2 separate regions of the Homo sapiens genome follow, and region 2 is linked to region 1. The links are contacts of gene promoters, found by promoter capture Hi-C in blood cells and fetal thymus (Javierre and others, 2016). All regions are on one chromosome and are shown on one strand. The core of a region is centred on a gene start or on the middle of the fragment in contact, and the rest is flanking DNA. Distances in the headings are between cores, read along the strand shown.

Region 1 (4,541 bases), core at 969-3,468:
AATTGTAAGTCAAACATCTTTTTAGACTTCAGAGCAAAAAGAGTAGCATTTACATCTCAAATAAAGAGTCAATTTAGTCTTTCATTCACTCGTTGACAACCTATGTCAAGTGTTGTTGTGGGTCAGGTTCCTGGGAAACAGAAGCTGATACAGAGATCCGTGTGCAGAAGTTTATAGATGAGTACTCTTGGTGACAAGAAGGAAGCAAGTTGGAGAATCGGTAGAAGCTGGACTGAGGTGCAGTTACAACAAAGATCTCAGCTGATCCTGATCCCTTGGGGAGCTTCAGAGTTGCTCCACCTCAAGGCAAGGGAAAAGGACCTTGAGACCCCCTCATGGATGCCCTATGGAGGAAGAGTGACCCTGGGTAAACTGTTCTCTTCTACTGAGGACAAGTATAAAAATTAGAAGTTCCTGGATGGAATATTATGAGCAAAAGGGAAAAAATTAAAAAATGAAAAATTTGAAAGACAAAATATTGTGTTTTGGAGGATTTTTTATTTTTATTTTTTTAAGACAGGGTGTCACTTTGTCACCCAGATTGCAGTACAGTAGTGTGATCACGGCTCACCGCAGCCTCAACCTCCTGCATTCAAGCAACCCTTCCACCTCAGCCTCCCAAGTATCTGGGACTACAGGCATGCACCACCATGCTCAGCTAATTTTTGTATTTTTTGTAGAGATGGGGGTCTCACTATGTTGCCCAGGTTGGTCTTGAACTCCTGGCTTCAGATGATCCTCACACCTCAGCCTCCCAAAATGCTAAGATTACAGGCATGAGCCACTGTGCCCAGCCAACAAAATATTTGGAAGACATTTTTGATGAGTAAGACTTTTCCTACCCAAACTTCATCAAATTTATCAGAGTATTAACACTAATTTCAATTAGAGCCAGTAAGTAGTGTTTCCTTTTCATTTTCCAAGCATTGCAGACTGATCTCTGTTTTCTAAACATAAACTTACTAATATTTTACTGTGTGCTCCTGGAAAAACTACATTAAATCTATCTCAATTTGTCCAATTAATGAAAATTAAATACCAGAACTGTTCATATGTACATTGTCTCCCCCACTAGATTATATTCTCCTGAAAAACAAGGAATTTATGTTTTTTATTTGAGCATGTCTCAAAGTAGTGCATACTAGATGCTGTACAGGTGACAAGATGAATGGGTGGATAGAAGGATGGATGGATGGATGGATGGATGGATGGATGGACGGACGGACATATGTATAGATAGATGGGTGGGTAAATGGATGAATGAGTGGGTGAATGGATGAATGCGTGGGTGGATAGATAGATGGGTGGTTGGGTGGATGGATGAGTATTTGCATGTATAGATAGATGGGTGGGTGAATGAATAGGTCATGGACGGATGGATGGATGGATAGATGGATGGGTGAATGGATGGATGGGTGGATAAATGGATGGATGGATGGATGGATGGATGGATGGATGGATGGATGGATGGATGGATAGATGGATAGATGGATGGATAAATAGATGGATGGCTGGCTGGCTGGATGGATGGAGAGATGGATGGATGTGTGGATGAATAGATGGATGGATGGGTGGATGGGGAATGAGTGGGCAGGTAATACATGAGTGAGTGGGTGGATGGAAGGATAAATGGATGGGTGGATGGATGTGTGGGTGGATGGATGGAAGGATGGATGGATGGATAGGTGGATGAATAGATTTGTATTTGTGAGTGGGTGGATGAAAAGATGGGTGGATGGGTGGGTGGACAGATATATAGATTTCAAAAATGAGTATATCTATATGAATGAATGAATTCCTCCCCGACAACAATTATAAATTGATGTCAGCATAGAAATAAAATATTCCCAAAGGTTGAGCAAAAATTATCTAATTGTATTTATCTAATAAACTAGAAAAGTAAAAATAAGGATGACGTCACTACACAGGGACATTTTACAGTATTTCTCCCACCCATGCTCCCTCTAAAAACCTTGCAACTAGTTGATTTACCAGTACTACCCACTTGTGGTAAAACAATTTTTGTCACCAACACATCACTCACACCTCTCTGCCATCAAGATAATACATGTGGTCCCCAAAATGTTCCACCAGGAGGTGTTCTGGGGGCAGCTAACTAAGAGGGGGCTTCCAGACAGATGGAGGAGTTGATACACATGAGGTCACAGATCTACTGCCTCTCCCCCTTTAAAAGAAACTACTCAGCTCCATTTGTCTCAGAATCTAGAGGAAGTTGACAAAGGTGCCACAGCAGCACAGCACAGTATGTGGTGGAGAGTTCTCAGCTTGCTGGCATGGTTCCCCTTGCAAGGTAAGGACTTAGAGTTATTTTTGTTGTTGCTCAGCTGACTTAATGTTTTGCCACATCTACCTATCAGTCAGTCAACTGCATTTACAGAGGAGCTGCTGTAGAAGACAACCCAGGTAACTGCTAATACTTTCCAAGCCATGCTCAAATCATGCATCTGAGGGATGTTACTGCGTTTATTTGATCTCTCGTTCAATGGCTAAGGAGTATAGAAAGGATCATTATAGTGTGTGTCTCTGTGGGTCCTATGTTACGGCAAGATGAAACAAGCTTATTAGGCTCTGTCTTTTAAGGGCATACCAGTTGAAAGAGCATCCGTATTGAATTTTATTTTATTTTATTTATTTATTTATTTATGAGACACAGTCTCGCTCTGTCGCCCAGGCTGGAGTGCAGCGGCACGACCTCGGCTCACTGCAAGCTCCGCCTCCCGGGTTCACGCCTTTCTCCTGCCTCAGCCTCCCAAGTAGCTGGGACTACAGGTGCCCGCCACCACCACGCCCGGCTAATTTTTTTATATTTTTAGTAGAGACGGGGTTTCACCGTGTTAGCCAGGATGGTCTCAATCTCCTGACCTCGTGATCTGCCCACCTCAGCCTCCCAAAGTGCTGGGATTACAGGCGTAAGCCACCGCGCCCGGCCTCCACGTTGAATTTTAAAATTTCCTTGCTGTATAAATCTTAGCCAAACGATTTAATCTCTTTGAAACTCAGTTTCTGCATCTTAAAATGAAAATGATAAAAACTTTTGATCCACCAAACTCCCTGGATTGTTAGAAGGATCAAATTTCAAATGTGAAAGCACTTTGAAAATGATAAAGCGCTGTGCAACACTTATTTAGCTCAGAGGTAATAATGAGACCAATGAAAACTTCGTGTTTATTTTTAAAGAGTAAGTTATACTTTACATTTTACTATAATTTTCAAATTTGGATTTTAGTGCTTAATCCTAATGTAGCATTATGAAAATTAAGGATAGAAGCAGTTACCTTTTTGGAGCAGGTCAAATTATTTTCTACCCAAAAGTGGGGGCAGGGGTGTAGGAAGTGGCTCCTGTTGTCCCTCAGTCTCTGCTTACAATTGTATCAGATTCATGCAAAGGACATCCCTCACAAATCCACTCAAAAATTTTGCTTTTTGTGTGTTTGTTACCAAATATTGAAACTGTAGTTCTGTTTCATGAAATGCACCTATCCTTCTAAATCTACATTTAATCTGGAATGGCATCTGAAGGACGCTACTTTAAAAAACTCGATTTCCTATTTTACATAGTACTTCAATTCCCTATTTTATATACTTCAATTAATGCCTTCTTTTTTTGGTCCCTGTACCCTGAGGCACTTAATAAGGATTCAATTTTGGTAATGAATAATATTAGTTTCTTCATTAAGTGGCTTAAAGAATAGCTAATACATTCAAAAAGAGTACATTTAGACAGCTAAAATTAGGATGATTTCAATTTTTCCAGAGTTTAAAGCCTTTCACTGACCTTAACTTTTTCAGGCTTTGAGTTATTGCCTCATAAAAAATAACTCATAAAAATACATTTTTTAAATAAATAGCAAAAATTATGTTTCAAGGTAAACCTAAATTACTTAAATATTATTTATATAGAGAGGAAAAATATTGTTTCATGCACAGTGCTGAGTACTTTGTGTTAATTACACTTAATCATAGCGGAAGTACTGAGGTAGGTACTAATATCCCCAATTTAAAGATGAGAAAAGAAGTTATGTAACCTGCCCAAGTTTTAAAGCTAGAATATGACAACATAAATACCAGCCTATAAAGCACATAGTAAAAGTATTTATTTCATGAAACTTCTAATTAACGTGTGTGTGTGTGTGTGTGTACTAGTTGTGACAGAAAATGTATTAATGTGGATCAAAAGTTGGAAAACCACTGACTTTCACAATTTGGAGGATTCAATATTAAAAAGTCCTATTTGAAAACTCGTTCAAGGGGCCACCCGAGGGCATCTAAGCTCAATGGCATTTGAGCAGTGGCTGCCACCCCTGACCTAACCTTGCTCAAGCCCATCCCAGACGTAATTAGGAGGAGGTGACCATGTTGCTTTCTTGTCAGCAAAAAAGGCAGCAAATCATCAGTTTTGGCAAAGCTATAAACTGTCAGCTGATTTTAGCAAATTAAATTATGGGAAGATCACTGTGACTACTTCTACAGTGTTACTTCTATGGCTGCCAAAAATTTATGGAAAAAAAAAAAGTCACGTA
Region 2 (4,617 bases), core at 600-3,099, 1.4 Mb before region 1:
CTGAAGCTATAGTTTAGGTTGAGGAAAAAGTTTTCTGGTTTCAAAAATATGTGTACATGTGCCATTTCTTTCTTGGGTTTGGTTTATGAAAAGCTCCAGGGGATGTGGGGCAGGTTGGACATGAACTCTGTTCTCACTGGGAGTGACTCCCAAACCCTGGGCTTTTGAGTTTCTGGGCCAGCCAGATTGAGTTTGGTTCAGCTGAAGGATGGAGAACTAGCAGTCAAACTCATAATGAGGAATTCCTAACCGGAGGGTGAGGGTACAAGGGTGAGATTTTTCTTCTCTGTGGCTGCCTTCCTATGCCATTGTTGCCTCTTGCTCTGAGGTTAATAAGAAGTGGAATTAATTTGAATCTGTAAGGATTTGAGTCAGATAAAAGGAAGAACTTCCCTGTACTGGGCTTTCTGCCACAAGTTCTATCTGGTGCAGACCCTTCAGAATGCAAGCACAGGTTGGTGACTGAAGGGGTTTGAGGTGCCCCTCTTGGAACTCTGGAGTAACTAACATCTATTTGGAATGATCTTTCTAGCAAGGATGACCATTGCCTCTGTGTTTCCCTGGGGCAGACCTGGTTTCTAAGTTGTCTCTGGTGGTTATGAATAGCACCCCCTTCACTCTCAAAAGTGTCAAGATGTGACAATAAATTATATGGTCCTACTTTTAGCCTTAAGCCAAGTTCCACTTTGTAATCACGACTTTCCCCTTCAACGTTTAAACCTAAGGAATGGTGATGTTTTCCAACAGTACTGCTTGACTTGAGTGTGGTTCTATGGAGGTGCAGTGAGCTGGGGAATAAAATTTCATTCCTGCTTTTAGGAAATTTACAATTTAAGGAGGAGAGCAAGCAGATGCAGATACAGGCATGTCAATGTACCAGGATGGGAACCAGGAAACATGGTCACAAGAAACCAGCCACAACTCTACAATGGTGTGATAACGGGCTGTGTGACATGCAGCGCATGGGAGATGGAGAGATAAGGGGTGGTGGGCTCAGACACTGTCCAGCTTCTTGCCCTCTGACCTTTGAGTGAGGTTAAGAGGACACTGGCAGCACAGGTTAGGGCTGGAAGCAGAAGCTGCCTGAAGGAAGCAGGCCTAGAGGCGATGTTAAGGCCACCACCTTCAGGGAGAAGAGAAGGGAAGGCTTTCTAGGGGAATACTTGCATCTGAGAAAGAGCCCTGTGCTGGAGTCAATGTCGGTCCTTTTTCCTCTGCTTCGCTAATGTCTTGGGTAAACTAGGCTTGGTTATTTTGACCATTTTCCTCCTCAGTTTCTCTAAGGTGGGGAGACCGGCTTCTGCCATGATTACTTAAAGGCACATTTATGATACTGAAATGTGATTGTAGGGGTGAAAATAATTTGCTGGCAGATATCAGGACTTTTCTGCCCATGTTCAAGGCTCACGCCTGTAATCCCAGCACTGTGGGAGGCCGAGGCGGGTGGATCACTTGAGGTCAGGAGTTCGAAACCAGCCTGGTCCACATGGGGAAACCCCGTCTCTACTAAAACTACAAAAATTCACTGGGCGTGGTGGCAGATGCCTGTAGTCCTGGCTACTCAAGAGGCTGAGGCAGGAGAATCGCTTGAACCCCGGAGGCGGAGGTTGCAGTGAGCCGAGATCGCGCCATTGCACTCCAGCCTGGGGGACAGAGTGAGACTCCATCTAAAAAAAAAAAAAAAAAAGGCAAAGTTTAGAAGTTGAGCCCCTTCTTAAAGGCCAGGTCCAAGAAGAGGGATTCCCTAATTCATGCCACACTGAATTTCCTCCTGATTTCTCATAAGCTCTGTCTGTCTGCGCCATCATACCTGCTTTTTCCTCTGCCTGAAATGATCTTCCCCAACTCTTGTCCTTGCCTGGGAAGCTCTTATTCCATTCTTTAACATCCAAGGAATACCTCTTGGTATTCTCAGGCTATGGTGGGAAGAGTTTCTTCTGAGCTTGGAGGCAGCACTTACTGCCTTGTGTTAGAATTGCTCAACTGTCTCATCTTCCTGTTTGCTCCTTGAGGGCATGGATCAAGTTCTCTTGTGTTTCCCTGGCACTTGGGAGGCCCTTAATGAGTATTTGTGGACCAGCCACACACCTGGAAGAAGAGAGGCCCAGAGGGTAGGAAGCACATTCACATTATATAAAATGTATTTGTAAGGAGGAATACAGTGAACCCACACATGGATAGTGAAAATGAGATGGCTCATTCGGTAGTGAGGATGCAAGCGGCATGGCCTACAGATAGTGGAGCCCTGATTTGCCTGTGCTATATGGGAGTTATTTTCAATGAAGAGCTTGGATTCTATTTTACAGAATCCTCCCTTTTAGGGCTATCATTCTGGTTTATGCTAATGGTATTGTTTTGGGGAAAAATCCTTTGGAATAAAGCACAAAGCCTAACAGGATTTACAGGTTTATTTTCCTTCCAACAAGCTCTCTCTTCATAATTCCTACATTTTAGAAGCCAGGGAGTATTCAGTGTCCTGATTTGAGACTGAAAATAAAGTGTCTATTACAGCACAAGGCCCTGGGACAAAAGGCCTCCTTTGGGGGTGGAATACCGTTCAGCTTTAGATCTCTTTTGAGTAGATTCTTCCATGATACACTTGCTTGGGAAAGAATTGGCTGGTTGATTCTGAAGTTAGGATGTTTGACCTGTGTGCTTCCAGAATAAGATGAGAAGGCAAAGAATGTGCTGCTTCAGGTTGGCTTTTATGTAGCTGAAGAGTTGCTCGGGGCCTTGGGTTGGCTCAATAAGGGACGTGACCTTGAAAAGCTCTTCCTGGTTCCACTTGGCGTCTTTTCTTAGGGAGCTCTGTGCCCAGTCTCTGGCCGCTTTTAGTTCATAAATAGCTTGCATGGTTAGAGGCACAGAAGGTGGAGGCTTTGCGAGGGGGAAGGAATGGAGGAAAGGGGTTGGTGAGAAGAGTAAGGAGGCGGAATTTGGAGGGATGAAATAAAAAGCTGTCTGATTAGGTAATGCACGTTTACAAAACAAAATTTGTACAAAAGCGTATGTGGTAACAAATTTCCTTCCCTCTCATGCCCCCTGTTCACCCAGAGCTCCTTTCCGGGTGGCATCCGTTGTTATCAATATTTTTGTATATCTTTCCAGAAACAGTCTATGCATGTACAACATGTATGTACATAAAATTGGAAACTTGAATTATAAATGGCTTCCTGTTACCTGTAGTCCCTGGTATCCTGAATAATGAGATTAACTTTAGCTCTAAATTATATTTGTGATATTATGATGGTGAATTGTTAGAAAATTACCTGAAGTATCATAATATAAAATAGATGATTACTTTTTTTCCAGGCCAGGTGAGAAAAACCTCATTCTCCTTTCACTTCAAGCGTTCTTGCAGAGCAGGAGAGCAGCCTGATGTAGCCCCCTTGTAACTTGGAGAGATGCTGGAGCACAGTTCCCTTGAGATGTGGAGTCCAGGCTTGTAAGAGCATCAGAATACAGTGATCATGGATCTTGGTTTTAATTTGTGTTCTGTCTGAGAATGTTTTCTCTATGTTCTGTAAAATGAAGTTAATGGTATGCTTAATAAATTGCTTTGAGACTTGGGATCCACGAGGCAGATCCTTATAGCAACGAACATCCCAAGGCAAAAGGTGGATGTTGTAGGAACATTTCATTGTCAGATTTTGGTCTGTTCCTCCTTAGAGATGACAGCCATCTTCATAGTGTCATTGTTGAATCCCAGGGCAGAGATAGTTGGAGCCAGCTTTGTTCCACCCACTGTAATGGAGGGACACAGGGGGCAGTCTTATCATAATCTGGAGAGCAGGTAATCCAAAAAATAATCGATTTGCTTTTGCTATGTATTTATGTAGTCTTTTTTTTAAAGCATTCGTTTACCTTCCTAATTAAGTTTTGCTCAGGTGAATATTAAAATGAGTTTGCATTCTTTGATCTATTGATAAGGGAAATGGCTGGCCTAAATGTATTCAGGGAAAGGCAGTTTGGAGTTTAGAATTTGCGACAATAATTCAGATGCAGATAATTGAGAGTTGATAAAAATGTATTAAATGTTTTAAATGAATAAAAATGTATTAAAACCTGGGGGCATTACATTGACCTTTCCTCCATTTATTTGGATTTAAATAAATGTGATGGAAAGTAAAAGAGAGCTCACTGCATTTTTGGTTTGAATATTCAGGGATTAGTATTTCTCCAGAGGTGGTCTGGGCTGTGGGGGTGAGGCATTCTCTGTTGATGAGCATGGGACTTTCCTATGCATTTTCTAGGTATGCCAGACACTGTTGGCAGATGGTATAGTCAGTCTAGCCACGTACATGCAAAAATCAATTTCCCTCAATTTAAAATGAGCCACAGTTAATTTCGACCTAATTTATTGGCTTATCGACCTGTGAACCCTGGGCCTTCGAAGAAGTGGCATGGGCGGCCTTCAAGCGCTGAAGTGGCTGATGAAGCTAAAATCCAGAAAAGGCAGGGTGGGCTGCTGAGCAAGATCAAGATTTGAGTTTCCTCCTGTGTTATTGTGAGATGCTCAGTTTTTTTTAACTGTAACATGACCAATGCTTTGTGCATTTTATGGTGGGTTCCGTAAAAATAGGACTGCGTAACGATCACAAGTACACTAGTGTGTTA

Evidence for each region. The method cuts DNA at HindIII sites, captures the fragments that hold promoters and counts their contacts. A CHiCAGO score of 5 or more calls a contact.
Region 2: a fragment that was not itself captured here is called in contact with the fragment with the promoter of CRTAM in region 1 in 1 of 17 cell types (naive CD8 T cells); the score reaches 6.2 in naive CD8 T cells.

What each region holds. Positions count from the first base shown.
Region 1 is chr11:122,836,282-122,840,822 of GRCh38, forward strand. It overlaps CRTAM (cytotoxic and regulatory T cell molecule), which reads left to right and starts at 2,219. Exons shown (of 10, transcript NM_019604.4): 1 at 2,219-2,311. The coding sequence starts at 2,266. The HindIII fragment of the contact is 4,925 bases long and covers 1-2,576 here.
Region 2 is chr11:121,454,323-121,458,939 of GRCh38, forward strand. All of the region lies in intron 1 of SORL1 (sortilin related receptor 1), which reads left to right. Among named protein-coding and RNA genes, the nearest start is that of SORL1-AS1, 3.7 kb to the left of the region's middle. RefSeq lists a silencer at 1-2. The HindIII fragment of the contact is 6,202 bases long and covers 1-4,617 here.